3 separate regions of the Homo sapiens genome follow, and regions 1 and 2 are each linked to region 3. Evidence: promoter capture Hi-C in 16 types of primary human blood cells and fetal thymus (Javierre and others, 2016). All regions are on one chromosome and are shown on one strand. The core of a region is centred on a gene start or on the middle of the fragment in contact, and the rest is flanking DNA. Distances in the headings are between cores, read along the strand shown.

Region 1 (4,541 bases), core at 486-2,985, 1.9 Mb after region 3:
GAAGAACAGCCCGGGATCCGTAAACAGACTCAGCTCGGTGTCTTCTCGCACCTTCTCAGAATCAAGTTTCCAAAATGAGGGTCATCCGCCTGCCTTGGAATTTGGGTTGGGAAGTGGATGGAGTTCCTGGACACATGCTCTAGGCCCTGACCAGTCTGGCCACTGCTCACTAGGAATTCTGTTGGGAGGGTGTACAACAGATTTTCCAACTGGTCTACAGCGAGCATCGGTAGTTTCCCTATGGAGAAAATGATTTTCTTTCTGGGAATCCCCCTATAGCCTGAAGGCTTTGCCTCATTTCCCATAGCTCCTCTCCGGTGTACCCCTTCGGTTCGCACTTTCCTACCTTCTTCCCAGTCCACTGGCTTCTCCTTCTTTATCTTCCTCAGTGTCCCTTCTCACAACCTCCCTGCTACCACACCAGATTCTGAAGGGGAGGAGTTGTCTGGAAAGACCAGAGCTGGGTGCTGGGGATCTGGAGCAGCTCGGGACCCGCGCTGCAGGGAGCTGGGATGGGAGAGGTGAGGGAGAGGAGGATGGGACTCTGGGAGAAAGAGAGGGGGCTGGGCTGGCGCTGGGGATGGAAGAGGCGAGGTGAACGCACTCAAGCGGTTACCTGCAGACAGGGAGAGACAGTGGCAAATACCTGCCTTCAATTAAACGCATATCAATTTGTGTGTGGGGTCAGTACTGCACATCATCAAGCCTCTTGGGTATAAAACCTTCCTACTGGAACTCTCCAGCCCCGCCCCCACCACCCCACGCGCGGCTCCCTGCTTTCTCTTGCTTTGGGGTGAGGCTGGGGATGTGGGTGGCTCCAGAGTTCCCTGCCCGCAGTTTAGGGGCGAAGTGATCGGTGTGTGCGCGCTGGGCACTCTGCGGGTTAAAAAGGTTTAGCAGAAAGGGATGCAGATGGAGGCGGGAAGCCAGGCTAAGAAAGGGATACCGACCTCCCTCCTCGGGTCGGAGGTGTGAACTGGGAAGCACTGCGCAGACCTGAGCGAGGTGGCCTGAATCCAGGGGCCGGGCAAGGGGGTGGTGTGAATAGAAATAGCACATTTCCCAGGCTTTCAGCCCCGGTACTCTGCCATCCTTCCAGTTCCATGCACTCAGCCAGGTCTCCAGGCTGGAGCAAGGGCTGGGGGTCAATGGGTCCTTCCTTCTCTCGGGAAACGTTCTTCTGGCGCGAAGCTGGGCGGAGGGAGAGTCGGACATTTTCCTCTGCTTCTCTCAGGGCAGCTGGCGTGGCCACCTCGCAAGGCTGCTTCTAGGGACACGAGACTCGGGAGGGTCAGAGACTTTCAGGCCGGGCCTTCACTCCCTTCCCCGGGGCACTTGGGCAAGAGTTCCAGCTCTTGGCTACCTCTGGCCCGCGCGTGAGTTCAGACACCCAGCACACGCGACCCCCGCAGGGAAACCCCGGGAAGCTGCGCGCAATCGCTGGGGACTCGCCAGGGCTCCACTTCCCAAGCTCCGCGCCCCCTGCGCCCAAAGAGGCAGGGCGGAGCAGAGGCCGCCGGCGTGGAGGAGGCGAGCGCGGGGCTGGCCCGGGAGCCGCCCCCGGGGAGGGACTGAGACCTGCCCCAGGAGTCGAGGGCGAGCGGCGGACCCGGCTGGGCCCGGCGCACGCCGAGGAGAGGGAGCCCCCGCCACCGCCGCTGCCTCCGCGTGCTCAGCCTGTCCCCGCCCAGGGAGCCGGAGCCTCCAACTAACTCCGCCCGCCGCTCCGCCGCCCGCAGGCTCCGGCTTCCGTCCCGGACAGAGCCCGTGGTCGCGCAGGTTGGTGTTGTTGCCGCTGCTGCCGCCACTGCGAGGCGGTCAGGGCAAGGGTGAGGGTGGGGGCGCGGAAGGGGGCCTGGGCTCGGGATCCTGCTGCCACCAATTCCTGGTGCCCCAGGAGGTTGTTGCTTTTTCTCCCGGGCTGCCCGGGTCGGGGGTGGGGGGATGGGGCGGGGATCCAGCGATGCGGCCAGGGAGGATTTTGGGGACTGAGCTATTCTCGCATTTCCCAAACCTCTCTCACGACCCTTCATCACCATTATTAAGTCCCTGGCCAGTTTGTGAGGGGTCGTCCTCCCCTCCGGTCCTTCTCACCTCCGCACTTCTCCTTGTGCCCTCTCCCTAGGGGGTACAATTTGTTCATTCGCCTTTTCTGCCCCCAACTTGGAGAACTCTCCGTGACGCCTAGAAAGCCTCCTCGGTTCTCCGCCCGCCCTTCAGTCTAGTTTGGGGAAGTAGAGGCCGCCGCGGAGTAGCAACCTGGGGTGTGGAGTGGGGGCGAGTGCCGGGAAGCAGTGGAAATTCCTTCCCCTCTTTCTTTCCCGTCCTTGCCCAGCTTTGCTCTCTTCCTGCCGTTTTGCCAGCCTCCGAATGTAATACGCGGGCGAAGGGCGATCTCCAAGGCAGAATGGGAAGTATCCACCACTTGGGATACTAGTTAAGTCTAGGTTCAGTCACCTTCCCAGCTCTGTGGCCTTGGGACCCGCCCCATCGGAACCTGTATGTTGTCATCTGCAAAATATGCGTCAGCTCTGCCTGCCGCTGAGGGTAGTTGTGGGGCTCCCTTGGGATGACTTAGGGTATTACGTGATTTTGAGCACGGTCTCTTGTCTCGTGCAGCTGCCTGATGGCAGGTCCTGTGTTCTGATCGTCTGAGTTCAGGTCCTTTGGCTGAGATGTGATTATCTCTCTGGGTGATTTGGTCAGTAGCTTTGCGGGGCTAAAAGGCATGTGTTCCTGGAGCTGGTCATTGGGGTTCAGAGTTGAAATCGTGTCGTCCCCACCAATCCCTGTGTACAAAGCTATGGACCTTACATCCTGTGCCTTTGTGGTCATAGAAATTCAAGTAGAAGGAAGATCTTATTGGACTTTGTTTGCTTCAGATGTTTTACATTCTTTACAATCGCTTTTCTCTTCTAGGTGCAAACTTAAATTTACTGCTAATTCTAATAATCCAGGAAGGATACTTTCATTTTAGTAAAATCAGACATTTAGCTCAAATAACATGTGACATATTGTTTGTAAATTTTCAGTTTATAATCACAGGCACAAAAAAGCATAGTTCATGCCATTCTAGTTACTTTATAAAGCAAGTAAATGGCCTAAAAAATCAGCTTTACAGGAAGTCAGGGCTGCAGTGAACTGTGTTTATACCACTGCACTCCAGCCTCGGTGACAGAGCAAGACCCTGTCTCAAAAATAAATAATCAGCTTTAGAATTGATATTAAATGGTAAGCCCTGTCGTTCCTGCATTCCTGACTTAATAGGCATTTTCATTCCGCGATGCACTCTGCTATATGCTTTAAAGATATAAAGATATAGAGTATGTTCCTTGTCCTGAAGGGCCTTCCAAGGTAACTTAAAGACTATGTAGTTTTATTTCATATTTTTATATGAACAGTCTTCTAATGACTATACATGGCAAGTAGAATGAGGTCAAGAATGCATTATCAAAGGCCCTTTAAGATCATCATTTGGCCGGCTGCGGTGGCTCACGCCTGTAATCCCAGCACTTTGGGAGGCCGAGGCGGGCAAATCACAAGGTCAGAAGTTCCGTACCAGCCTGGCCGACATGGTGAAATCCCATCTCTACTAAAAATACAAAAAATTACTTGGGCATAGTGGCAGGCACCTGTAATCCCAGCTACTTGGGAGACTGAGGCAGGAGAATCGCTTGAACCTGGGAGGTGGAGGTTTCAGTGAGCTGAGATCACTCCACACACTCCAGCCCTGGTGACAGAGTGAGACTCTCTCAAAAAAAGATAAAACTAAATAAATAAATAGATAAAAAATCATTTGGTGAGTTTGCATAATTGGAAGAAATAACAAGTTTGTTAAGACATTGCTTTCTAAAATAAAATGCCATGTGCTCCTACTTCATCAAGGTGCACTTGGAAATAAAATGAATTCTGTGTTTTTAGAATGAAAGCTTAGGAAAACATTCTACACATGTATGATGTGCTAATCAAATGTTAAAAGCTATAGAAATTTTAATTCTAACTTCCTTCAACTGTATGTTGTGGTTCCCACATACAGTTTTTTTCTCAACTCCTTGAGGAAGGAAATTATAATGCCTAGAAAAAATATACAGAGATTTAATGTAAGATTTTTAATAAGCTGGACCTTAAGGCCTGGTGGGTCCTGAAGTGACTCTGGAAATTTGACTTTAAAAGTTACGAGACTTGGTGAGACTGAGTGTGGTGGCTCATGCCTGTAATCCCAACACTTTGAGAGGCTGAGGCGGGAGTATTGCTTGAGTTCAGGAGTTTGAAACCAGCAACATAGTGAGACCTTCTCTCTACAAAAAATATTAAAAGAAAAAAAAAGCCAGGTGTGGTGGTGCACGCCGGTAGTCCCAGCTACTCAAGAGGCTGAGGAGGGAGGATCTCTTGAAACTGGGAGGTTGAGGCTATAGTGAGCTGTGATCATGCCACCACACTCCAACTTGGGCCACAGAGAGAGGCCCTGTCTCAAAAAAAAAAAAAAAAAAGACTTAGAATTTTGTTTTTTTTTTTTTTTTTTTTTTTTTTTTTTTTTTTCT
Region 2 (4,564 bases), core at 1,037-3,536, 1.4 Mb after region 3:
ACATTTTTAACATATTCCTAATGCCTCTAGAAACTGTTCTCTGCAGATAGTACTTTCAGAAATGTTTGGACATGTTTTTCTCTTGCTAAAGGACATGGATTTTTTAAACCTCTACCTACCAGCAAACTATAGCTTGTAATGAGAATGAGTTTGTGCTAAAATTTCATTGACACATTTTTTTCCTACTTATTTTTCTCTGTAAGTTTCCTCTATTTCAGAAGTTTGGTCATTTGCATTTCAACAAAACTGGCTGCATTAGAGCACCTAGCATTTCATGATGATTGTGAAACTCCTATTTTAAAGGAAGACATAAAGCAATAATCTGGAAAGGAAAAGAAACCTTTCTCTCTATATCCACAGTTAGAAGCTTTACAAAGTAATCAGACACTAAAATGGACATGTATGTCCTAAATTAGACTAAGATAACCTGGGTAATTTTTTAAAAATATTGATTGAGTCCTACTCCAAACTTACTGAATCAGGATTTCCAAGAGGCAGTATTAAACAGGAATAGCAACCATCCAGGATAATTCATATATATACATACACACACACACACACACACACACACAAATATATACACACATATATACACACACACACACATATATATTTTTTTTTGTTTGTTTGTTTTTGAGACGAAGTCTCACACTGTTGCCCAGGCTGGAGTGCAGTGTCCCGATCTCAGCTCCCTGCAACCTCCGCCTCCTGGGTTCAAGTGATTCTCCTGCCTCAGCCTCCCAAGTATCTGGGATTACAGGTGCCTGCCACCATGCCCGGCTAATTTTTGTGTTTTTAGTAGGGACAGGGTTTCACCATGTTGGCCAGGCTGGTCTCAAACTCCTGGCCTCAAGTAATCCACCCACCTCAGCCTCCCAAAGTGCTGGGATTACAGGTGTGAGCCATTGAGCCTGGCTCAGGGTAATTCATATTATCTAGGAAGTATGAGAAAGACTGAAAAGCCTCTGATATAAAAAATTGTGATAGTTTTATCTAGAGCATTAACTATTGCTAAAAGGTAGCTCTAGGCCTTTTACTGTATGTATTAAATTTAAAATTGAATCATTTGTTTTATTACACCATTATAGCTTCTAATCTAAAAAAATCACCTCTTCTTATTACTCCTTTATTCATTTCAGTTACAAAGAAGTAAAATTTAAGAAAAATAAGTGACTTCCGTAAAGTAAAAAATAATATCAAAAAAGGAAAAACACTCAGAGGCCAAGCAAAATTAAAGCTTCCTGTATTGAATTTGTGCTTGAAAACCTCTAAAATTCTTTGCCCTAGGTCTTCTCAAATCTAGGCAAGCATTCCATTAAAGAAAAAAGTATTCTAAGAAAAAAAGATAAAATAGTAACCAGAAGTAAAGTCCACTTTGAGTCCTACTGTAATCATTTTCCTAGCACAGCTTTTGTAAGTAGTTACCAAGCATAACCAAAGTCCTTTGATGAAGCATTCTCTCTCAAATGCCAATAAAAAAAAAATTAGAAATTTAGTGCTACAGCTAATGTGAATTTTTATCATTTAAGGTTTCTTTGAGGGAAAGGAGATGGAAAAGAGAAACAAAGATATAGTGCAACGTAGGAAAAATTATCTAATTATTGGTCAATAAATAAAAAGAGCTTTACTAGGCTAAGTAACTACTTTTCTACAATTCCTCAGTATTTAATAATGCCTCTCTCCCAAAGTCTCAAAGAGACATAAAGATTATTTTGCATGGTAACATTAAAATAACACTCATCTAAAAGAAATTAAGATTGCTTAGATGAAAAAAATGTTACGTGGTAAAGATTTACTTATCGCATTTTAAATATTTTAAAGTCATACTACAATATGTTGTGTCATATTAATATTATGTTGAAGTAAGTCAAAATGAATGTCAAATATGACTTATTTAAAAGTGTTTTGACACTATGTTTGGGTTAACTTGTACAAAAAATTAGCCCTTAATAGCATGTATTTGTTCCTCTTAATTTTAATACTACCTCTTTTTTTAGTCCAGTAACAACCACAACTTCCCTTTGATCATCTCCATTCAAAGTTAATCACCTCTAATGCTTATGTCTTTCTAAAAGCTTCCCTTAAAAAAACACTTTCTCTCCAACCTACTTAAATTTATTGTTTACAACACAATAGAAAGTCCACGCTGTTTCAAAATATATCTTCTTAACTTTTGTTCTTAACGTTCTTTTGTGTTATTCTCACACCTGTAGAAATCATACATGTTTATCATATTTTATGTTTTTTTCTACTTACTAGCTATATTACTTTAGTTTCCTCTTACAGAGATTATCCCATCCAAAGTGAGCCCTGATTTTGATTTCCCTTAAGAACAACAGAAAAAGCACAGAAGGGTATGTTAATTTCCTCACTGTCCATCTTAAATTAAATTACATGTATAATTTCAATTAATAAAATCATTTATTAATATTATGCTCTATGTTATGTTAAGTTACTTAAGAAGATTACACATCCCCTTGCCTCTAATTAATTTACAGGAAGCTTTCAACTAATCTGTTTTCTTTTTGCAGTTTCCTTTTCCTAAGTTTTCTTCTCTACTCTCCCTAAAGTTTGACAAATAATTCAGATTTTTCGTTATAGATTCCCATACTTGCAAAAGTAGATTAATATAGACCACTGTACCTGACTACTAGAAGTTGGGGAAGAAATGCTTGAAATTCATAAAAAATATTAAAATCATTCAATATAGTTAATAACTTAGTATGAGTAATAAGCATACACTTTTGAAAAACAATAAACAAACCATAAAAATTAGGATTAGTTTTAGTTGTTGTTAACCATCTGTGAAATCAATTCACCTCTTGCCCTAAGGCTTACACTATAAAAAGAAGAGGTTTTTTCACTTCTTTTTTTTTTTTTTTTTTTTTTTGAGATGGAGTCTCTGCTCTGTCACCCAGGCTGGATGGAGTGCAATGGTACGGTTTCAGCTCACTGCAACCTCGGCCTCCCTGCTTCAAGCATTTCTCCTGCCTCAGGCTCCCAAGTAGCTGGGACTACAGGCATATGCCACCACACATGGCTAATTTTTTTTTTCTTTTTGTATTTTTAGTAGAGACGGGGTTTCACTGTGTTGGCCAGGCTGGTTTCGAACTCCTGACCTTGTGATCCGCCCACCTTGGCCTCCAAAAGTGCTGGGATTACAGGCATGAGTCATTGCGCCCGGCCAGGTTTTATCATTTCTAACATCCCTTCCGTTTCTAAATGTCTGAATTCCTTTAAATGTGTAATGCAATTTCAATCCTGAATTTTGTGTCTGTCATATTATAAACACCTACACATACCACAATGACACTTCTGTTAAGAAAAATCACAGGGGAAAAAAATGCAAAAATTCAACACAACAGTGATGCATTTTCATTCACCAACAATGGGAGAGTAACTAATATATCCCTTCCTGAAAGTCAGTGTGACATTATCTATCAAAAACTAGAATGAGGAAGGCCTTCAAATTCAGTATTTGCACTTCTAGGAATCAAACCAAGTGAATGACTTGCACATTTATGTAAACACGTATTTTGGGGATATACACTGCAACACTGGATATATAATATGCAGTTCATACTAAAAAACTCCAAACCCGAATTCTTAATTTCATTCTAATTCTGTTCTACCTAGTCTTCCACCTTCTAGTAAAAACGGCCCCAGCTGATCAAGCCAAATACCAAGGACTCCTTCATTCCTCCTTCACAATATATCCAACAGAGTCCTATTTCTTTTTCCTATAAAACACACTGAGAATCATTCATCTTCTGGATCTCTGCTGCTACCACCCCAGTCTCAGCCACATTTATCTCCCACCTGGACTACAATAAAAATTTCCAGAGTGATTGGCTCCCATTTACTCTTGTCTCTTAAACTCCAGTAAGATCATGCACTTCCCTGTATAAAACTCTTCCACAACTTTGCATTGCATTTCAAGCACAATCTAAATGCCTCCCTAGTGTCTACCTGCCTCTCCAAAACAGCCTCCCTTGCTTTGACAATGCTGACCAAAACGGACTATTCCTAAAACCTACCAAGCCCTCCTCTGCTCCAAAGCCCTTAACCATATTTTTCTCCAGCCTGGAAATTATCTTTCAAGGTTAGCTCTTCACTATCCAGATATTATCACTGTAGCCTTTCCTGGCAATCATACTTAACCTTTAACACAGTATTACTTCATTCTATTTGTCTCTTTACCCACTCACCTCAATTTTCAATTATCTTGTTCATTTGTTTATTAATTGCATATTTCTTCCCACTAGTACATAAAATCCAGATGGCATGGAACTGTTTTACTGGTGTTATCTCAACACCATGTGTAGTCCATATCAATAAATATATATTGTATGAATGGCAGAATAACAGGAGGGCAAGCTGAGTTTTTGCTTTCATTTGCCACATTTAAGCTATTATTTAAATTATGAGTCAATTTACAGTAAAAATCTTAGATCAGCCAATTCCTCTAACCTATTTCAATAATCTACTAAAATAATGAAAAATGTTAATTAGATCAATAAGAACTTGGTGAAAACCTGCACAGTACACTACTAAAAGTTTATGA
Region 3 (4,680 bases), core at 2,133-4,632:
TTTTATGGAAGGAAATATGAATTTTAGATGTTCAATAATCATTACTTGACCTATGCTGGAACAATTCCTTATGTATTTAAAAAAACATGTCGCAGGTATTCCTTTGGAGATATGAGAATGTGGATGGTTGGTGAGAAGGTTGTGCTGGTTTTCTATTTTTCCATCTGCGTGGTATGACTGCTCAGTATTGTGGCATACTGTAAGAGTAACTATAGATGGGACCCCCATTTGCGGGGGGGAAGGGTCGAAGGGATAAAGGAACTGCCTTGTATTGCAAAATTGGTAGCAGAAAAGCTAAATATGAATCTGGGGTAGTGATGCAAGATTCAAGGACTATGGAAGGCCCTTCTTTGAAACTGCTGCCAAGCCACAAGGCTCGCAGTGCCCCCCAAAGGCCAGAGACTGCCTTGGTTACCTCACTTGAATACTGGACCGGGATCTGGAGCCGAACCTCCATTCCAGTTTACTCAAAACTCAAAACTGGCCTCTCCACGTGGCTTGGGTAGAAAGACAGTCAATGAGATGATTTGATGGTTTTATGAGTCAACTCCTCCACCAGAAGCGCTGTTTGGGAGTTGAAACGAAATAATGAGCTCGGGTCACAAGCTTTTCCACGAACCTTTCATCCTGGAGAAAAAGGAAAGTGCTCAGGGAGCCTAGCTGCCCTCGCATTGTTCCTGGCAGCTCCAACTCCTTGCACAGTCTTGGTCTCTCAGGAGACCAAGGCAGTCAGGACGCTACAGGGCACGGGTGTAAGCGCGACGTTCGCGGCCAGCCCTCTGCCTTGCCCCACTGTAATTGCGGGTTTTGATTAAGAAGGAGGAGCCAGTTGCCGACTGAGCTTTGAAAGTGACTTTGGGTGGGGGGTGGGGGTGGGGTGGGGGTGGAAGGAGGGGAGGGACCAAAAGAGCCTGAGTCCTGCAATAAAGGTTTCCCCCTATCTTCTCACTCATTCTTTCCCCCTCGCCGCCGGCGCTCTGGCAGCAGGGGATAACCCCGGTGCGCGCCTCTCTTCCTGTTTGGTTTACTCAAGCGCCTGCCCCAACGCCTTCTCAGTCAAGCTGGGAGGAAACTGCTTCAGCTTGAAAAGGATGCGGGCAAAAGCCCAGCCCGACTAGCTCAACCGCCGCGCCAGTGCCCGCCTCCTCTTCCTTAACGCCTAGGGCTGCGCCCACCAGCCGGCAACGTCCAGGAAAGGGCCACAGGAGAAATGACACCCGTGCAATGCGGAGTGTCCCGGCTCCGCTTCCCCGCAGGGACTCGAGGTGCGCTCCTTTTCCTGGCCACGGTTTAGGGAGGCTCGGAGATGGACACCTCGGCAGTATCTGGCGACCCTCTTCTCACTCGCTCCGCCCACTCCTGCTCTCCAGGGTCCCAGCCAAGGGCCCGAACCCTCGGAGTCCTAGTGAGCCTTGGCCGCTTTGTCTGGGATCAGGCTTATCCTCCTAGCCCACGGCCCGGGAGGGAACAAAGAGCCTCGACCCTCAAGCTCTAGCCTCTGCCTCTCATCGGAGCCCCATGCGCCCATTCATCACCTTTCTAAAGACCCCTTTGTCTGCCTGGCAAGCACAGGTCTGCAAGGGATGCCCACGCCCCTGCCCAAAGTCCTGCTTTTCTAACAACTGAGCTAGATTGGATTTTCAAGCCACCCAGTCTTGTGTAAACGACCTCATACCGGTCTTTTTTACCCCCTCAGAATAGACCATGTATAGATTCGTTGATGCATGACGACCATTCCAGCCCATTCCTTGCTAGCTTTTTCATTCTCTTCCAGTCCGCTTTGACTGTGCTACTGTTTTCCTGGTTTTCTACAGAATAGCAAGTCCTTCTGTAAGGATCAACCTGCATCTTGCTCGCTTAAATAAATGCTTATTACCTAGGGAGCAGGAATATTAAGAAATGGAGTGCAGGAAGTTTAAGAGCATGTGTGTGTGTTAGCAGTCCCATCTCTCTCTCTCTCACACACACATACACACACACGCAAGGGCTGTTTTCTTTGTTTTAATCAATGTCAGAGAAAAATATAAACTGGGCAGGCATCTCTGCTGGTGTGTAGTTTCTGATAGAGGACGCCTCCAAACCGGAACAGGGAGGATTTCCGAAACAGGACTTTGAATAGAGTTGACAATCAGGTTCACATCCTCAGAAAAAGCCTTCCAAGCTATGTCAGCAACACAAAGTTGCACCACCTCCTGGGTAAACTTCAAAGACACAGAGGCCAGCGGGTGGAAGGAAGTGTGATATTTAGAGAACTTAGTGGGGCGGGGGAGAGTCTGAACTCATCTAGACAAACTAAAAAAAATAGCAGAAATATAGTCTGTGTGAAGCTACAGTACCCAGTTTCTTTCTAAAACTGTAACCATGACGCCCATGCGTTTTAGCCGTAGAAGAACAAATAAGGAAGTATCCTTAGTGGTACTGGAGTTTCTAATTCAAATTATAACACATTAATCTATCCAACGTCAAATAGAAAAAAAAAAAGTAGAGAAACAGAGTATACCTATTTCCTGCTTTCTAAGCTTTAACTTCAGCCCTTCGAGAAACCATCTATCTCCAGTATCTCCTTAGGTGATAGGACATTGAAAACAGGCAACCGTTTGGTGAATAAAGACATTTCTCTTGAGTTCTGCCCACAGATTAAAAGGACAAGGACACACGTTCTTTGTTGACACTTCTGCAGTGACTTCTCCTTTGGCGAGAGAGCACCCAGGGCCAACACAACTGTCACCACAACCACACAGAGCAAGTTGAACTCATACTGGGAACAGCTTAGAGAAGCACGCACATCTCAACAACAGCCTTTGTTATTTAATTCATGACACTAACCACGCGCAAGCTCAAACAAACACACATGCTATCCTAACCATCACTCTACCCTCTATATTCACATTTCATTTATGGCTTGACTTTTTGTCATATCCTGAAATGAAGCTTTGCATTTACCCGATGAGTTGCGTCTCCTGGTGCTCCTCAGTTCTTGCTATTTCTTTTGTCTTATAAAAGATCAGGAGCAGACTTATTGTGCAGATCGTCCACCTCTTCCTAATGGAGCGCATCTTGGGTGCCCGAGAAAGTCCTGGTTGCCCCAGCTCCCGCACCTTCTCTTGATATAAAGGCTCCGTTTTGGGGAGATAGTCGCGGGGGTGAAATCTGTAAAATGCGAGGAGAGCTTGGAGCCGGGATCCCGGGATCAGATCACTGGGGTCTTCTGTGGCCGAGCTCCCTCTGGTCCTCGAACGCTGCCCAGCGACCTCTCGCCCTGTTTGCGCCAGCTCTGCCAGGGTCGCTCCGCGCCGCCTCCCTGGGGCTCAGGTTTCTTTTCAGATGAGACACCTTGTGCATTGGAGGTGGCGGCAGCTTCTGCAGCTGGGTTCGGGGGCGTCACTGGCCCTTCCCTCTTGCTAGGAGATAAACGCTGCGCAAAGCCAATCACCAGGCTGAGGGGGCGGAGGCTGCTTGGAGAGTAACGTCCCCGGCTCTGCCTGCTCTGTGCCGGGAGAGGAAGCTCACAGTGCTACGCGCCTGCGAGCTCGCGCACATACACATATACATACATACACACATACATACATATGCACACACACGTACACGCAGAATCACACACACTCTCCTGGGACATCAAAGCATCAGCTCTCTGGACCTGGGAGCTCCAAGATAGTCTATCCGCATCTAGGTGAGAGGGCACCTCGCCTGGGGACAGATTACAAAAGCGTCCCGCCAGAGGAATGCTTCAGGTAGAGCTAGGGGTGGATTGCAAGAAGAGTACCTTCTTTCAATCGCTTTTGCTAAACACACACCCTCACACGCAAAAACACGCCCTCCAAGGTGGAGTGAAACGGGGTGCGGGGGTGGGGACGGCGGTGGAAGGAAGAAGACTTTTATTACTCAATCTGGAAAGTGCAAATACACACATGAACCTGTTAGCCGATGGGCCCACTCTGCATGGGTGGTGGACGACGACCCTGGCTCAGGATTCTGCAGGAAACAAGTGATGATAGAGGTGTCATTAGGAACTTTATGGATATTTATGCGCCTCCCTTTCATTGCCATTTGGAAACTCCTCACGCAGAAGTCAAGGAAACTCCAATCCCACTTAAACTTCATTGCGGAGAAACAGAGTTCTGAAAAAAAAGCAGCTACCATGGACCTCTCTTTTAAACGCAAGTACACCCACACACATTCGGATACCAAGGAAGGAAGGAAAGAAAGAAAGGAAAGAAAAGGGAGGGGAGGAAGGAAGAGCAAAGTCCTCTCTAAAAGTCTCAATTATATATATAGCCTCTGATTGTCACCTCTCCTCCGTCCCACCATTTTTCGTACTTGTATTGGGTGGCAGGGACACTTTTCAAGAGTTCTGTGTTCGATTGTTCACTCTGAGTACCTCTCCACCATCCTCCAGTCGTTGCCCTCATTGGGAGAGATGCTTGCTACTCTGCTAGTACCACGCCTTGGTTCCGGTCTTTACTGTTGGCTGGTAGGTCGGGAGGCACCTCTAGCATGAGACAGTGTCTGGAAGCCAGGATTTCCCTCATCTATATGCGCCGGTCCCCAGCTCCCTGGTCGCCAGGGTTTCTCTCCAGTTGAATTCCGTGTTCCTTCAGGTTGAACAGTAGCTTCAGCGGTTTTTCACGCTCAGAAATGATGAGGCCCAATTCCAATCTTCCCTCCCGCCGGAAGTAA

What was found. Contacts are between HindIII fragments. The CHiCAGO score rates a contact against its expected background, and 5 or more counts as called.
Region 1: the fragment with the promoter of PAM here is called in contact with the fragment with the promoter of ST8SIA4 in region 3 in 1 of 17 cell types (non-activated CD4 T cells); the score reaches 5.4 in non-activated CD4 T cells.
Region 2: a fragment that was not itself captured here is called in contact with the fragment with the promoter of ST8SIA4 in region 3 in 1 of 17 cell types (M2 macrophages); the score reaches 6.1 in M2 macrophages.

Annotation. Positions count from the first base shown.
Region 1 is chr5:102,753,570-102,758,110 of GRCh38, forward strand. PAM (peptidylglycine alpha-amidating monooxygenase) reads left to right here and starts at 1,736. Exons shown (of 26, transcript NM_001177306.2): 1 at 1,736-1,779. RefSeq lists enhancers at 765-1,290, 2,298-2,798, 2,370-2,459 and a silencer at 1,430-1,979. The HindIII fragment of the contact is 4,564 bases long and covers 1-3,927 here.
Region 2 is chr5:102,284,668-102,289,231 of GRCh38, forward strand. All of the region lies in intron 2 of SLCO4C1 (solute carrier organic anion transporter family member 4C1), which reads right to left. Among named protein-coding and RNA genes, the nearest start is that of SLCO4C1, 9.3 kb to the right of the region's middle. The HindIII fragment of the contact is 427 bases long and covers 2,074-2,500 here.
Region 3 is chr5:100,899,900-100,904,579 of GRCh38, forward strand. It overlaps ST8SIA4 (ST8 alpha-N-acetyl-neuraminide alpha-2,8-sialyltransferase 4), which reads right to left and starts at 3,383. Exons shown (of 5, transcript NM_005668.6): 1 at 2,944-3,383. The coding sequence starts at 3,056. It overlaps LOC107986437 (a long non-coding RNA gene), which reads left to right and starts at 3,509. Exons shown (of 2, transcript XR_001742825.3): 1 at 3,509-4,680. RefSeq lists enhancers at 506-725, 832-1,333, 2,471-3,040, 3,526-3,765, 4,546-4,680. The HindIII fragment of the contact is 2,860 bases long and covers 2,930-4,680 here.